2 separate regions of the Homo sapiens genome follow, and region 2 is linked to region 1. Evidence: promoter capture Hi-C in human tissues and cell types (Jung and others, 2019). All regions are on one chromosome and are shown on one strand. The core of a region is centred on a gene start or on the middle of the fragment in contact, and the rest is flanking DNA. Distances in the headings are between cores, read along the strand shown. Region 1 holds the start of TFF1 (trefoil factor 1). Region 2 overlaps ABCG1 (ATP binding cassette subfamily G member 1).

Evidence for each region. The method cuts DNA at HindIII sites, captures the fragments that hold promoters and counts their contacts. A contact is called where the count stands out against the background at its distance.
Region 2: a contact is called between a fragment that was not itself captured here and the fragment with the promoter of TFF1 in region 1, in 2 of the 25 tissues and cell types used here (IMR-90 fibroblasts and lymphoblastoid cells).

Annotation. Positions count from the first base shown.
Region 1 is chr21:42,364,472-42,368,719 of GRCh38, forward strand. It overlaps TFF1 (trefoil factor 1), which reads right to left and starts at 2,064. Exons shown (of 3, transcript NM_003225.3): 1 at 1,940-2,064. The coding sequence starts at 2,024. It overlaps LOC105372815 (a long non-coding RNA gene), which reads left to right. Exons shown (of 3, transcript XR_937755.3): 3 at 1-641. RefSeq lists a silencer at 2,386-2,485 and an enhancer at 3,112-4,248. The HindIII fragment of the contact is 32,159 bases long and covers 1-4,248 here.
Region 2 is chr21:42,267,150-42,271,397 of GRCh38, forward strand. ABCG1 (ATP binding cassette subfamily G member 1) reads left to right here. Exons shown (of 15, transcript NM_016818.3): 3 at 3,921-4,038. Among named protein-coding and RNA genes, the nearest start is that of TFF3, 46 kb to the right of the region's middle. The HindIII fragment of the contact is 6,788 bases long and covers 1-4,248 here.

The DNA of each region.
Region 1 (4,248 bases), core at 814-3,313:
GACACGTGGACAGATGGGGCTGGCTGGGGGCTGCCGCAGGATCTTATGCAAGAGGTTCTAACACCAGAGCTTCAGGCTCTGAGCTCCGCGGAATCAAAGGTCTCAGAAAGCAACCTATTAGGATCTGGTGGTTGACAGCCTGCAGCAGGGGGTGAAAGAGGAGCCCAGAGCACCCTCCGGTCCCTGTCCCTGCCTTGGGGCATAGGAGGGGAGGAACTCAGTCTGGCCACACTGGCTCAGGTGAGGGCGCCCCAGGGGAGGCCGAGAGGGGCTGTTCTCTTGTCTGCTTTGCTATCAGGGACTGCCTCGAGATGTCTTTGGAGAAAGTGTTCCTGGCTTGCTGGGAAGGATCCGTGTTCAGCTCCCGCTGCCCAGCAGCTTCCATGGGAACCTTGCCCTCCTGGGGTCTGGATCCATCGCGACGTGAAGGTGATCATCGCCCACCCCCGGGACACTGTGGGGGTCAAGAGAGGCCCCGTGGTGAGGGAGGATCATCATCCTGGGGGTCGGGGGGGTTTCCTCCTCAGGGAGGAAGATTTCCAGCCCCGGTGCTCTGCCTCCGGCAGACTCTGTCTTGCCCACCCGCTTTGTCTTTGTCGCATGATGGAAATAAATGGAAATGGTTTCCACACACGAATGCACTAAACTGTAATCACAATTTTCTAGATTTCAGTTGTAACAGGATCATGGACCTGAGTGACCCGCAAAGACGCTCTGAGCCTTGAGCCAGAGGGTGTGTGGGGTGGGGAGGGGAGTTTGCCACGGCCTCTGTGATCCCACAGCACAGGGGGCAGAGCTGGGGGCTGGGGTGGGGGCAAGGGCGCAGGCAGATGGGCCTGGGGGTGGCCAGCACGGGGACCCACCCAGTTCGTTCTGTACACCGAGGCCACTTCCTCTCTCGGGTTCCAAAGCTCCCCCGCTCCCTGCCATGGGCTTGGGGGTCTTCCCACTGCAGCCCAATGCTGGCTGCTCTTCTACGCTGCCCAAGCCCACCCCTCAGGCCCGGTACCCCACAGCAGAGATCAAGAGGTGGCTGGAGGGCAGTGGGGGCACGGACAGCACCACTGGGCGCTCCCTCTTCAGGCCTCTCTGGAAACCCTTGCTTTGGAAACGTAGAAAGCCCTTTCTCCTGCCCCCACCTTGAAACTGTACCTAATAACGGCAAATAAGTTATTCAGCTCCCCACAGCTGGCAAAGTGCAAGTCGCAGATGCTGCCACACAGCATTTCCTGACAGCCCTAGGGCAGACCGTTGATCCATTCTGCAGGTAAAGGAGTTGAGATGCAAACACTTCCCAAGGAAGCAAGAATGGCCTCCTCCTCCACTCCCTAGAAGGACCCAGGGCAACCGATCCACTTGACAACACCAGGGAATATGGGTTGCCAGCCACGCACTCATGAGAGAGGTGGCTTTGACTCCCAGAGCATGGATCCCAGGGGAGCCCAGGAACCTGTAGGAGAGGGTCTCCCAGTTGGCCACCACTGGGACGGGCATTCGGGCCTGTGGGAGAGGGTCTCCCAGGTGGCCATCACTGGGACCGGCATTTGGGCCTATCTGGATGGGCCTTGGGAGGGTCTGCCCCTGGGGGAGATGTTGGCATGAACAGTCAAAAGCACTATTCTGAGACCCCACGCCAACACTTCCTCTTTGAAACATGACACTTGGGAGGATTGTATAGTCTTCCTAACACAGGAAAACAGCCCCGACTGAAGGCAGCCCCCTCCTCGTCGCACTTCTCGAAGGTCTCCGGGGGCCCTGCCACCCTGAGTTACTCTCCACCTGCTTTTGCCGATCCTGTAAATTGGATATACTTTTAAGGGCCTAGAACAGCACCTGGCACAAAACAGGTGCTCAAAAATATGTATGTAAAACAGTGGCTCCTGGCGGAGGCTGCCAGAGCTGGCTGTGGCCCCACAGAGCAGGAAGAAGCACGCCTTACCTGTCTGGGCCTCGGCCAGGGTGCCGAGGGCCAGCATGGACACCAGGACCAGGGCGCAGATCACCTTGTTCTCCATGGTGGCCATTGCCTCCTCTCTGCTCCAAAGGCGACCCCGAGTCAGGGATGAGAGGCCGCCCGAGCCCCGGATTTTATAGGGCAGGCTCTGTTTGCTTAAAGAGCGTTAGATAACATTTGCCTAAGGAGGCCCGGGGATCCTCTGAGACAATAATCTCCACTGATTTTTATCAAAGGTGTTTCCTAGACATGGTCAAGCTACATGGAAGGATTTGCTGATAGACAGAGACGACATGTGGTGAGGTCATCTTGGCTGAGGGATCTGAGATTCAGAAAGTCCCTCTTTCCCATGGGAGTCTCCTCCAACCTGACCTTAATCCAGGTCCTACTCATATCTGAGAGGCCCTCCCGCCAGGGTAAATACTGTACTCACTGCAGAAGTGATTCATAGTGAGAGATGGCCGGAAAAAGGCTTGGCCGTGACAACAGTGGCTCACGGGGTGGCCACCGTGACCTTGCAGGGGGAAGGGAAGGAGCTCATGAAGCCCATTCCGTCTAGGCCTAAGCTAATTCTTTTACAGTGGAATTGTTTTAATAATGAAATTGTAGGCCTGGCGCAGTGGCTCACGCCTGTAATCCCAACACTTTGGGAGGCCAAAGCAGGCGGATCACTTAAAGTCAGGAGTTTGAGACTAGCCTGGCCAACATGGCGAAACCCCGTCTCTACAAAAAAAAAAAATACAAAAATTAGCCAGGCATGGTGGCGGGTGCCTGTAATCCTAGCTACTCTGGAGGTTAAGTCAGGAGAATCACTTGAACCTGGGAGGCGGAGGTTGCAGTGAGTCGAGATCACCCTACTGCACTCCAGCCTGAGCGACAGATTAAGTCTCCTTCTGGGAGGGGCTGGGGGCAGGAGGGAGAAAAAAATAGTATATACGAGCTGCCATCAAAAACTGACAAAGTGAACGTGGTTCACTCCCCTGTGTCTATGGGGCTCCCTCCCTCCCCCTCCCACACCTTCCCAGTTGGTCCCCTGGACTCCTGTATTTTAGAGGACAGCCTCCTGCTCTCCTGTACCATGCCTCACTCCCCTCCCCTGCTCGGAGCTTTCTCTTTCATAGCTCTTATTACCTCCTGGTGGATAAAACAAGTGACTGACACATTATGTTGGTTATTTATTCATTGCACTCCTCCCTGCAGCAGACGGGAGGGCGCATGGGAGCAGAAGTCCTCATCTCCTAGTGCCTTGAGGTGGCCCCAGACCCTAGAACAGTGGCTTTGATTGGCATTCGAGAAACAGCTGTTGAAGAGCTGCATGAAGAAATGGACAACAGGAGAAATCTTTTCTTCTTCAGTGAGAAATTAGGCCCTGAGGAAAATGCATGCTAGCCTAACAAAGGTACTATCTTTTCTTGGGTGACCTAGTCAGTACATTTCTGCAGCCCCTCTGGGAGGGGAGCCTGGGCCAGAATGGGGGCGGCCATGTTCCTCTTCGCTCCATCCCAGGACCCAGCCCCTCCTCCAGGGCTGCCACTCCTGCACCGGGGTCTCCACTCCTGGGCCAGGGTCTCCAGGAGGGGCCTGACCGCAGGACCCAGGGAGGGGCCGAGGCCTGGTGTCCTCTGTGGTCAGCTTAAGTTTATTGAAAACAGGACGGGGGCACCAGGCCCAGGGTGGTGCTCATAGTGACGGTGGTTTTCGCTGCTCTAATTTCTCGGATCAAAATGGGGGCTCTTGGAAATGGGATGTAAATTGCACAATCATTTGGAGAAAAGGTGGGCAGTGTTCGGTGAGGTTTAAGCCATACAGATTTTACAGCTCAGCAAATTCTTCTGTTTCCAGGCCTGGTCTCTTAATCCCAGAAACATGTTCATACTTGGGCAGAAGAAAACACAGGCAAAGATATTCTTTTTAGCATTGTTTGTAACAGCTGGAAACAGGGAAAGAAGGAAGGAAGGAAAGGAGGGAAAGAAAAGCAAAATAAATATTCATTAACCAGGGAAAGGGAAAATGAACTTAAAATACAATGCAGTCGTCCCTTAGTACCCCTGGGGGACTGGTTTCAGGACCCCCCACCCAGGGATGCCAAAATCCACAAATGCTCAAGTCCCTGGTATAAAATGACATAGTGCGCAGAAACCACGTGCATCCTCTCCTACACTTTAACCATCTCTAGGTTAGTTATAATACCTGATGCAATACCTACACCTCATTTCATTCTGCAGATTCTACATAGTACTTGACTTGCGGCACACCCAAGTTTTGATCTTTAAGATGTTGTAAATAAGATTTTA
Region 2 (4,248 bases), core at 574-3,073, 98 kb before region 1:
GGAGTGGAGCCTTCCTCCCACCCAGGCTCACAGAGGCCGGCCCTGCCCGCCTAGCGCTCTCGCGGGTTCTGGTCTGCAGTTTTTATCTGAGTTCCGTTTAGTGTCTGGTCTGAGGCTCTGGTCTGGTTTGGGTTCTGTCTGGGTTCTGTCTAGGTCTAATCTGGGTTCTCTCTAGACCTGGTCTGGGTGTGGTCTGGGTTCTGTCTGGGTCTGGTTTGGGTTCTGTCTGGGTCTGATCTGGGTCTGGTCTAGGTTCTTTCTGGGTCTGATCTGGGTTCTGTCTGGGTGTGGTCCGAGTTCTGTCTGGGTCTGGTCTGGGTTCTGTCTGGGTCTGATCTGGGTTCTGTCTGGGTGTGGTCTGAGTTCTGTCTGGGTCTGGTCTGGGTTCTGTCTGGGTCTGCTCTGGGTTCTGTCTGGGTGTGGTCTGGGTTCTTTCTGGGTCTGATCTGGGTTCTGTCTGGGTGTGGTCTGGGTTCTGTCTGGGTGTGGTCTGGGTTCTGTCTGGGTCTGGTCTGAGTTCTGTCTGGGTCTGGTCTGGGTTCTGTCTGGGTCTGGTCTGAGTTCTATCTGGGTCTGGTCTGGGTTCTGTCTCGGTGTGGTCTGGGTTCTGCCTGGGTGTGGTCTGGGTTCTGTCTGGGTCTGGTCTGGGTTCTGTCTGGGTGTGGTCTGGGTTCTGTCTGGGTCTGGTCTGGGTTCTGTCTGGGTCTGATCTGGGTCTGGTCTGGGTTCTGTCTGGGTGTGGTCTGGGTTCTGTCTGGGTGTGGTCTGGGTTCTGTCTGGGTGTGGTCTGGGTTCTGTCTAAGTTCTGGTCTGGCTGTTCTAGTCTGCGGCTCTGGTCTGGCCTGGGTTGTGTCTAAGCTCTGGTCTGGGCTACCATCTGGCTGTTTCAAATACTGAACCTGGGCATCCTGCACGGGGCTGATGGGCCTTCACTGGGCCTGGCTCTGGCAGTCTCTGCACTTGTTATCCTGGGCACTCACTATCCCAGCCAGAAAAACAGTGGAAGACAGTGTGCCCTGTGAACGAGAGCCCACAAGGACAGGGAGGCAGGTGCATGTCCATTATGCCAAGAAGTGGGCTGAGCAGAGCTCAGGGGTGGGAAAGTAGGGCAGGCGGGGTGGGATGGTCGCATCTTCGCTTTATATTTCTGTAATGGGAACCAAGTGGAGGACTCTGCGGGGAGGGTGATTTCCTTACATAAATAGAGGTAGGGGTGTGTGTGTGTGTGTGTGTGTGTGTGCGCGCGCGCGCTGGATACTCAGGAAACCCGACTACCACAGGAAGCCTCTGGCTGGTGTTTCCTGGGCCCCTCAGCCCAGGACTCACTTTTAGATGTGCACAAGGTCACTGTTGTACCCGGGCTGTCCCACAGCAGGGCAGACTAATGTTTACTGGACTTTGTTTCCAGAGCCACTTTTAAGATTCTTCAATTCCAAATGCATGTCTTTTTTTAAAAAAAAGAAAGAAAGAAAAATAAGTTTCTAATATTAGAGAAGTACAGCCCTGAATTGGGTTTTGTGTCCACTGCTGGACCCCATGAGGGCCAGGTGGAGTGGACCTCTGCAGCCCCAGTTGTGTGCACTCTCTGTTTGGTGCAAATTCCAGTTTGCTGGTTCTCAATAGCAAGACCAGCCTGAGACCACCTGTCCTGCTCTTCCCATGAGAGGGCCGAATGCTCCCAGCCTCCATGCCATGTCCTGTTCCTGGGGTCCTGGGGGTCATTGCAGCCTGTATGTGCTTCCTCCAGCCAGGGTGATCATCGGGTGCCCCAGTGAGCCCCAGCACTGAGGGTCAGCCCCAGGCACTGTCAAAGGTGAGAGCTCAGAGGCTGTGCCCAGAAAGAGAGGTGGGCCCTGCCTGCCCTGGACGGAGGGAGAGAGGCTTCTCAGAGCCCGAGGCATGAACCCTCAGGTGGGTCGTGGCCATAGTCAGATGATGGCTGCTGGTGAGCTCAGTGACCAGGCGTCTTCAGGCAGCTCATAAGTTTGAGAGGACACAGCCTAAGGGAGGTTTGCTGGGGAGTAGCCCCACTTCCACCCTGAATAGACAAGAGATGGTAAAGCAGGTACCCAGCACTTAGTGCTTTCTTGGGGATATCGCGTGGGTCCCCGGGGGCCTGGGTGCCCGAAGTGCCGCAGTACTCCATGGTGCAGAGAGCTTGCTCCTGTGGAGGAAGTGTCTATGTGGTCCCCAGCTCCTCTGTCTGCCTGTCCACTGAGGGGCACCCATGGCTCAGCAGAAGGGCTATTCTTGGGGTTCCCGGTCCTCCTCCAGCCCCGCTAATCTGTGTAGGCCTCAAGTGCTGTGTGTTTGTAAGCATTGTCATCCACAGTCCTATTGTACGAGCTGGTTCACCCGCAGCTCTGAGCTGCTCTCCAGCCCCAGCCCTTTCTTCCTGTGCCCCTACCCCCGCTGGGATGACTCTCCTCACCCTCCCTGGGGCGACAACCGCCCTGTCTGTAATGAGTGGCAGTCCCAAGCTTCCTGACTGGCTTCCGCAGCTCTCTGACTCCCCTAAACAAGGCCTCAGGGACTCCACATCCAAATTAAGGCGGCACCTGGTGGCAGGTTGGCATTTTCCGGTGTCCTATCTATGAAAGACAGGAAGACAGCTGGGAGCAAACTCCCCTGGGCCAGACTCTTGGAAACATAAAGGCTTGGGTGCCCAGCTGGGGACCGGGAGAAAGTCTAAAACACGGGACTGGGCCAAGGACCCCACAGGTCCCTGTCTCATTAGGTCCCCTGAAACGTGTGGAAGCTAAAATGGCATTCACGTGATTCTTGATCATTTAACAGTGGATTCTGATCTGATACTACACTGAGAAGTGCCCCTGGGCCGGGCGCGGTGGCTCACGCCTGTAATCCCAGCACTTTGGGAGGCCGAGGCGGGCGGATCACAAGGAGATTGAGACCATCCTGGCTAACACGGTGAAACCCTGTCTCTACTAAAAATACAAAAAATTAGCCAGGCATGGTGGCAGGCGCCTCTAGTACTAGCTACTCGGGAGGCTGAGGCAGGAGAATGGTGTGAACCCGGGAGGCGGAACTTGCAGTGAGCCAAGATTGTGCCACTGCACTCTAGCATGGGCGACAGAGCAAGACTCAGTCTCAAAAAAAAAAAAAAAAAAAAAAGTGCCCCTGGATTGGGAGACATTATCTATGCATCCAGTTGCTTCTGTTTTATTATTTACAGCACTTTTAAACAGTCTATTTGAAAAAAAATTAATGTGGCTTTGCTTGGGATGTGCAGCTTTTCCCCTTTTATAAAGCTCTCAGATGGAGACTTGGCAGAAATTCCAAAGCAGTTTGGTGTGGCTCCAAAATGACAAACTTTCTTAATTATTAATTAAGGGATTAATAATATATTGATTATTTAATCATATGTTGATTATTTATAAATAAATCATATATACATAATTTATACTTATGTAAATATATAAAGCATAAATAAATAATTTGTAGATGCAGTAAGTGAATTATTAATTAAAACAGACACATGCATGGCATCTCGGGGCAGGAGCAAGCTGGTAGTGCTGCAGCTCAGAGCTGGGTTCTGCCCATACTGGCCGAGGGCTTGGGCAGGTCACCTGGGCCCACCGGACATCGCTTCCTCACTCTGAGACGGGAATGGTGGATTCCCCATAGACTAGACAATGAGTGGGAAAGTGCTTTGTGAGCTCTAAAGCATTACACACGTGCTGGTAATTATTATCATTATTATAACCTGTGAAATGCAATTGAAGACGTAGACCAGGGAATTCGAAAGACATGAAGTTCATGTTCTTCCCTGGAATGCAGCCTTTTCTATGATGCATGTCAAAGGTTGCCTTTGGCCTTGGTCATGTGTACTTGAACATTTGCATATTTACTGCATTAGAGATAAAATGAAATGAATATGAATATGATCTGCTTTTTTGCAGGATACAAGACCCTCCTGAAAGGAATTTCCGGGAAGTTCAATAGTGGTGAGTTGGTGGCCATTATGGGTCCTTCCGGGGCCGGGAAGTCCACGCTGATGAACATCCTGGCTGGATACAGGTGAGCAGCCCTGCCCAGGGCGCAAAGTTCTCTCCCGGGTGTCAGGCCAGCAGTGGGAACAGTGGAGCTCCTTCCATCAGCCCCATCACCTGGAGCAGGCTGTGGTCTACAGCAGTAGTCCAGGGGAGAGAGTGACATTGAGAGGCTGCACTTGCCAAGGGCCATATGATGGGTGGAGAGCCACACTCAGAGAGGGGTCCCTGGAGACAG